2 separate regions of the Homo sapiens genome follow, and region 2 is linked to region 1. The links are contacts of gene promoters, found by promoter capture Hi-C in blood cells and fetal thymus (Javierre and others, 2016). All regions are on one chromosome and are shown on one strand. The core of a region is centred on a gene start or on the middle of the fragment in contact, and the rest is flanking DNA. Distances in the headings are between cores, read along the strand shown. Region 1 holds the start of SNX5 (sorting nexin 5). Region 2 overlaps GZF1 (GDNF inducible zinc finger protein 1).

Region 1 (3,867 bases), core at 725-3,224:
GGACAGTGGGTATTTACTGGATTCTAAACAGAATTATCTAGCAAACAACTAGAATTCTGTTACCAGGTGACTTTTTTCAATAATCAAGGAAAACAAGCAATTCTAATATTGTTGGTAGCTTATAAAACAAGTGAATTTTATGTATTATTTAGTCAAATATTTGATCTATTTTAGTTTCATCTGTAAAATGTGGATAACAGTATCTATACTCCACAGGACTACCATGAGGATCAAGTGAGTTAATACACATAAAGTGCTATTTAATGTTAATTACTATCTGAAGGGAGTTCCTTGCTAGTAAGTTAAAAAAACAAAACCAAACCTCATTCTTTTGACACCGTTGCTCTCTATTATAGAAAACATAGCAAACATATAGAATCAGAATTGAGATAATTACTTGAAGTGTATTCTTTAAAGCCATCTTCTCCCAGTTCCAGAATCATCCGCTGTTTCCACCTCTCCAACAAGAAAACCTGTTGTTTTGTCATGGTCTGCTGAAGGACTCGGGTCACACTTGGTATCACATTCCTTTGCAAGGGGATTTTCAAAGGAACTGAAGGATCACTTGCATTTGGTTTATCACTTCTCTCTGGATTGAAGATAGGAAACCAGTTTTGTGGCACTCGTCTGTCCTCACCTTGGTTTGGCAGCTTATGCTTGCTCACGGGTCCACAGAGCAAAGCATCTTCCTCCACCGATCCCGGGGTCTGGGCGACGCCTCTGGATGACAAGACAGACTGAACTAAATTAGAGTATTTTTCTTGGTCCACTTCTTCATATGGGTTCACTTTTTTCTTCCGGCCACATGAGTAAGAGGAAGTAGAGAAAGCCACAAGGGCAGCTGATTCCACAGAAAACTTTGAACTCCTGAGCTGCCTGCAAATGGTCTGAAATAACTTCATCTTCATTCAGATTTGTTTTCACTTTAGTCTATTTGCAACGGTCGAAGGCCTTTATGTTTGTATTCCTATTGGAGAGAAAACAACCATCAAAGCGAAAGCTGCATCAGAATGATATTGCACATCAAAATTGTGAACTTTTTCGACATGTTTGGACAGAGCCCTTTCTTAAGAAAGTCGACAGAGCGAGACCCTGCCTCCAAAAAAAATTTATAAATAAATCAAGACTCAATACCCGAAGGACCGACACATACTAAATGCGAATTAGTAGACAGCTTGAGGCAAGACGTCCCAGTTTCTAATCTGCAGGAATGTGACGCCCAGGAAGGGAGGCGTGTGCGAGACACGGAAAAACACAAAGATGGAGCCCGTCCCATGGCGGCCACACAGTCCTAGGTGACAGACGACGACTAATTCCTAGACACCAGGCTCTCTGCTAAGTATTCTGTGTGGATACTTCTCATTTGGTCCTCACACCCTCTACCGTGGGTCTAGAATGAACCCGTTGCACAGACGTGGAAATCGGGTTGGAGGGTCCCGTCGCTCGCCGGTCAGAGCTGGTGGCGGCGCTGAGGTCCCATTACTGTGACCGCAAAAAGTCGCCTCCCGCTCCGCCGTGGGTGCGGACCCCTGGCGGGGCCAGGACGGCGGTGGCCCCTGTGGCAGGAGTCTGGATTAGAGAAAAGACGACTTAAATAAAAGCCCAGCCTACGGCAAGTGTCGGTACCTTGGAAGCCACCACACTTCGCTTAACTCTCAAGGCGCGAACAACCTCTCGCGACCCGTACTTTCATCCGTCCCGCGCTTTGGTTTCGAATTAGGCACAGCCTAAGGCAAAGCAGGTCCAGAATGCCCCGCGGCGCTCACGCCCCACCCGAGGCTTTCGTCGGCCTCCGCCAACGCGCCACCAGTTAGAGGCAGGGAGTACCTCTCCGAGCGGAAGGGCCGGCGTCTCCGAAGCGCGGGAGCCTCCAAATCGCGCCCTTCTGCTCTCACGAGATCTGGTGACGTCAGCGCTCGCTGCCATCTTGGACTCGGGCTGAGTAATAAATTCCCCCCGCACCGAAACGCGGTCTTTCTCTAGACGCGTCTTGCTGGGAGAGTGTCCGTTGCTTCCCGTCCGTGTCGCGGCCCTGCGGTTGGCGGCCTCCTCGTGGAGCGGAGCAAGGGTAGGCCCCACGTGGCGTCTTTGCCCGGCTCCAAGATGGACGGCAGCGGGGACTGGGAGGCTGCTCTGGGGGAGCACGTGGCGCCCTGCTCGCCTGCTCCCGGGGCAGCTGGGATGGTGGCGGAGTCCGGAGGCCTCCTGCCGCCGTCGGGCAGGGAGGCCGGCGGAGGCGGGGCCGTGGCCGCCCCCGAGAGGCGCCCAGGCGGCGGCGGCGGCGGCCCAGCTTCTTCTTTCCTCGCACAGCCAGGCGGCCCCTGCTCGAGTCCCGCGTCGCCATGGCCGCGGTTCCCGAGTTGCTGCAGCAGCAGGAGGAGGACCGCAGCAAGGTGAGGTCCTCCCAGCCTCAGACTCCTGGGCGGGCGGCCCTGCGAGCTCCGGGGTCGCTGCATTCTTTCCCTTGCGCGTCCATAGGCCGTGGCTGCTCGCCGCCATCCCCAGCGCGGGAAGCACCCGTGAGACCCGGGCGGCCCCTCTCCCTGGTCTTCACTGAAGGCTGCCCCGGGGAATCCCTGTGGATGTCCCGGATTCTATTAGGACAGAACCAGAGACGCGGGACCTTAGCCCCAGCTCAGGCGCCGGTGCCGAGCGGACTTGGAGAGATGATCTCTGGAGACCCCGGAATGTTCTTTTTAAAACTTTCCTCGGCTTCGTGGTGACCAGTAGGTGAACGTGAAATTGACTTAACATGCGACAGACCAGTTTGGTTTGTTGCCCCCAAAATACCCTCCTTCCCCCCACCTTTTACTGAGAAGACTTTTTTGGGGGGGGGGCCCAAACAACTTGGGAAATTGCATCAAGCGTCCGAACATGCTGCTTACAACTTTAGAAACGCAAAATGCGTTGTTGTGGGAGTTGTGTAATTTTTAGTAGGTGCTCAAATACTTGCTGAACTTGGTGTCTATTTTTAAGTCTTGCCCATTGATGTAAACTGTCCCTAGGTCACGTGTATCTTGAGGTCTAAAAGATTATTTATGCAATAAATTGAAATTCCCATAGCCAATTAAAGATTCAGACGAGCCTCCACTCTTTTTCATTGGTTCTTTAAATTTGCCTCGGTAGCTTTGCGATGCATGGTTTGCGAGCAACCTTTCTTGCAGAATCGTCAACGTAAGTTTTTCTGACCGATGAAAAAGAACCTCTAAAAATACAAGGCTCTCTTAAAATGTAATTTGGAGCCGTCTTAACTTACACATTTCTTGAGAAGTTAAAGGCACCTCCATAGAGAAACTTGTTCATCTAGTAAGTAAATACCAGAGTTTCAAAGCGGCTGGATTGTTCCAACAAGGGTATCATTGCATTAATTATTAAAATAGAGCTTTCTATACAGGAGGGTGTTGTTTAGAGTGGTTTTTTTTTTGAAAGTTCTTTATTACTAAAACAAAGTGGAAACTTGAGACCACGATTCTTTGTAAAACATTATAAAGGTACTTTTCTCCATAAAGGGTAGATAATGGATTGGGATTTTGGTAGCATTTTATTTTTTCTTTCTTTCTGGTACATTCTTTTAGCTGTCTTGATTCGGAGTCAGCTAGGTAAAAGGACTCAATTGCTTCACCCCACTCTCTGGTAGTACAGTATATTGCAGCTGGTTTTTAAAATGACTTCCACCACCCTGATCCTCCAGCAAAATTGGAGAATGGTTATGAAGGCCATTTCCTGCCTGTTTTAGAGGCTACAGAAACTGTCCGTATCTGTAGCGAAGAGAGTTACATGACATTGTTTTCCTTTTTACATTACAGGAATAAAGAGACAATAAAAATAAATAATTACCCTGACGCGTGGCTTTATTTTTGTTTTCTG
Region 2 (4,008 bases), core at 491-2,990, 5.4 Mb before region 1:
TGTTTAAAGAATCTTCTGGTCTGACCACTTAAAGTAAAAACTACATGATTTATTTTCGGGCAATTATGTTTAGCTTTCATCATTATACTCCAACAGACCCGTCTGAAGGGGTATTTTTTTTTAACAATAATGTTTGTAACATTTTGTTGTGTCAATTAGAGGGTCACTTGTTTGTATTGCAATAAACACTGGGACCAGTTCCGGGGTTAAGAATTAATTTTTGTTTTTAATATTTCACATGAAAAGAATCAAAGTAATTGTAATGGCTAGAAGAGACCTGCCAGAAGATTAAAAAAAAGAATGAGAGAAAAGCCCAGTTAGTGGTGTGCAAACTTACTTCCTTTAAATGTCCCATGGATGTAGGACAGTGCCATGTTTCAAGATGCCTGTGAGCTAGGTCTTCAAGATTTATAGAATGTTACTTATGAACAAAATATAATTATTTATGGTACAATTCTTGTACTTTAGCAAATCTGGAGTTAGTTCATAGTCAAAGTCAGTTAATATTTCTTAGAGGAAAGTTTTGCTTTTTGTGGCAACATTTTTATAGCTTGTGTGAGTTCTTTTTTATTTAATGATTTGAAAGCAGTATTTTTGCACAGTCGTGACCGTGTGTGGTGGCGTCACTGTAACCAAAGTATATGCACCAGCCCTTGTGCATTTATTGTTTCTCCTGATTTTGTGGATTTAAATGTCCAAATGCAAACCTTTGTGACTTCCTTTGGAGGACTTGGCAGCACAGCATGCCCCCGTGACCTGCCTGCTGTGGTATGAGCTATGACCAAGAGCAGGCTTCCTGCTCCATGGAGTCCTGAGTTGCTCTGGGGCAGGGGATTACGTTATGAAAACTAACCATGTGTAACAATAAATCTACCTTAGCAGAAAAAGTATGCTTGTTTTATTTTAACCTATAAAGTGGAAATTATCAGTAATATTTTGATGAGTCTTGTTGCTAAATTGGCATAGGTCAAAAGTAGCTTCCATTGTTTCAAGTTGTTCCCGTTAAGATTAAGGCAACAGACGTTAATACTCTCTAGGCTCCGGTCATTTGTTGGGAATTCCAGGGCACCGTAATGGTTTTGCAGACTGAGGGTTTAGAAGGAAACCCTGGTAACTTCTGTTGATGCAGTCCACTAAAGTACATGATAACCCTGCAGACCCCACATTCTCATCCCTTCCTTGAATCCTTTAGGGTCTACAGTTACTTGCAAAGTTGAGGAAGGCATGGTTGCTGGAAGACTGGTGGGGAGGTGAGGCACCCCTAAGCCTGACACTCTCCTACCCCAAGAAAGTACCACTCAACTATCTGGTCAGTGTGGGCATTTATTTTAATTTTGCAAAATATCTGCACAGGGAGAGGAGATGCCCCTGGGGAAGGGTCAGTCCCACTGACCACTGGGGCCTGAAGTTCTGATGAGGAAGAGGACCCATGGCGGGTAGTGCAGACCGGCTCATCCTACCATCCTATCATAGAGCCTTGATTTCAGGTCCTAAAGTATATTCACAACACTTCAGGTAAGTCAAAGCAAAATGTTTTAAATGGTAGAACAAGCTGTCCTCATCTAGGCATTCTGAGTTGTTGATCATTCAAAGCCTAAATCAAGTGGCTCTTCTCAGAATCAATTTCCTAATGAAGATGCCACCATGGTAGTTTAAAAGCTTAGTTTTGTCAGCCTTAGTTAAGAGTCCACGTACGGATTGCCAAAGGTATGCAGATGATTTTCTGAGTCTCATTTAGCATGATGTGATAGATCAGGGGTCCCCAACCCGTTAGAAACTGGGCCTTACGGCAGGAGGTGAGCTGCAGGCAGTGAAGCTTCATCTGTATTTGCAGTCACTCCCCGTGGCTCACATTACCACCTGAGCTGTGCACCCTGTCAGATCAGCAGTGTCATTAGAGTCTCATAGGAGTGCAAACCCTATTGAACTGCGCGTGCACGGGATCTAGGTTGTACGCTTTTTATGAGAATCTAATGCCTAATGATCTGTTGCTGTCTTCCATCACCCCCAGATGGGACTGTCAAGTTGCAGGAAAACAAGCTCAGGGCTCCCACTATACATTATGGTGCATTGTATAATTACTTCATTGTATATTACAATGCAATAATAATAGAAAGTGCACAATAAATGCAATGCGCTTGAATCATCCTGAAACCATTCTGTCCCCCCACCTGTGGGAAAATTGTCTTCCACAAAAGTGGTCCCTGGTGCCAAAAAGGTTGGGGACTGCTGTGCTAGATGATCCTCTGACCTGTGTGCCTTTCTCAGTCACATCAAATGAAATATTGTTACTCCTGAGTACATGAATATCATGACATTTGGTTAAATTGACAAGTACCCATCTTGTTTCCCAAAAATGAACTCCTTGGAGGGACAAGGTTTATTTAACAGGTTAAAAATTAAATTATACACTCAAATTTACTTGTTTGGATAATCACCTACAGCAAAATCACATTTCTGTAAAAATCACCTTAAATAAAGGTCTCCACCACATGGCCCATTTTTTCCAAACGACAGCAAAGAATTTGGTAAAACGAAAGGCTGCACATCCCTTTGGAGTTTGGGCTGACAGCATTTCACAGAAAATGGTTGGAAAATGGTTGAAGCAAGCTCCTAAATGGCCCTTCTTGAGGCTCTGGGAGAGGCACTGTGCCGGCACCTGGCCACTTTCCTCATTACACACTTGGGACCAATCCACTCAGATGGTGGCCTCGCTTCCACTCAGCATGGCTGTGCTTGGACTTGGAGGAATGGGGCAGATGCTCCAGGAGGTCCTCTGTAACCAGTCCCCTACAGGGTTACGTTTCTCTGTTCTCAGGGACAGAGAAATGTATATAGTAGAAGTCGTATCTTTGATGCCTACTTTTTACATTGAAGAAAGTGGCAGAGAGCTCAACCGCACTTCCAGCCCGGTTGTGGCCTGCGCATGAGCAGAGGCCAGGATTTCTCCTCTCCAGGATCCCACTGCCAGAGACCAACTGGGATCCAAGCAGTTAAACAGCTTAATCCTAGGACTGTATGAAATAAAGGCTTATGGACCCGGATTTTACATTTCATTATTCACGTAATTAAGCAAATTATATGTTTCAATTAAGAATCATATTTCTGCAGAACCTAAATTATAACAGAAATAGATCTTTAAAAAATTGCAAAACTGCTTTTACAAAGCAGACATTTATTAACAACATTTTTTTGTAGAATTTCTAAGGAAACAAATTCAAGACAAAAATCCCTCCAGTAGGTAACAAAATGATCTATTGTTTCAATTCCTTCTGATCAAGTGACTTTATTCCATAAAACAGTACATCAGCTGGGCAGGTTCGGTCTCCTCTGGATGTATGACAGTCATTATTTATTTGTGCTGTAAACATAACTAGGATACAGTGACACTGTCATAACTAAATTTGAAGTAAATTAGTACTGTGACCTCCAAGGGCAGGTGTGAAGCATGTTATCAGCGCCTGAAACACCTTGTAGTGGTTTCACTAACATAAGTTAAAACATAAGCACTTAGGAAGAAAGTCTTCCCTCATTAATTTCTGGCATAGTGCAGCTACATGTTCATTCTGGAACTTAAAGTACCTTCCTCTTAGAAAATCAAAGTGTTTTCACAGCAAGTTTAATAAATTAAAAATGTAGAGAAAAAAGGAACTAGTGAACAAAAGAATTCTCCAAGGTTCCCTTTTTAAATTAATGTTTAAATGTTACATGTGAATCATAGCATTTCACAAGCACGTGGCACATACTCAAGGCCCTAGAACCAAATGTCAACGTTTAACAAATACAGCAGAATCGTCTTTTCATTGTGAATTTTTAAAAGCAATAATTAAGTCCTGCATGAAACAGCCAAAGAAGCATTTGGGACAAAGTTACTGGTTCTTCACAATCAACTCTTTAAGGCATAATCGGAGGTAAGTGTGCTGAGACTTTTGGTCCCTACTGCTATGTTCTCACATGCTCCCAAGGAAATAGACATGTCAGTTACTTGCCTGTTTCCATCTCTAGGTG

Evidence for each region. The method cuts DNA at HindIII sites, captures the fragments that hold promoters and counts their contacts. A CHiCAGO score of 5 or more calls a contact.
Region 2: a contact is called between a fragment that was not itself captured here and the fragment with the promoter of SNX5 in region 1, in 1 of 17 cell types (total CD4 T cells). The highest score is 6.3, in total CD4 T cells.

Annotation. Positions count from the first base shown.
Region 1 is chr20:17,966,901-17,970,767 of GRCh38, reverse strand. It overlaps SNX5 (sorting nexin 5), which reads left to right and starts at 1,974. Exons shown (of 13, transcript NM_014426.4): 1 at 1,974-2,393. The coding sequence starts at 2,343. MGME1 (mitochondrial genome maintenance exonuclease 1) reads right to left here and starts at 1,750. Exons shown (of 5, transcript NM_052865.4): 1 at 1,627-1,750; 2 at 398-967. The coding sequence starts at 908. RefSeq lists enhancers at 756-885, 906-1,105, 45-1,244, 1,826-2,135, 1,752-2,506 and 3 more and a silencer at 2,136-2,345. The HindIII fragment of the contact is 5,200 bases long and covers 1-3,867 here.
Region 2 is chr20:23,371,401-23,375,408 of GRCh38, reverse strand. GZF1 (GDNF inducible zinc finger protein 1) reads right to left here. Exons shown (of 6, transcript NM_022482.5): 6 at 2,347-4,008. It overlaps NAPB (NSF attachment protein beta), which reads left to right. Exons shown (of 11, transcript NM_022080.3): 11 at 1-887. Among named protein-coding and RNA genes, the nearest start is that of GZF1, 11 kb to the right of the region's middle. The HindIII fragment of the contact is 157 bases long and covers 1,662-1,818 here.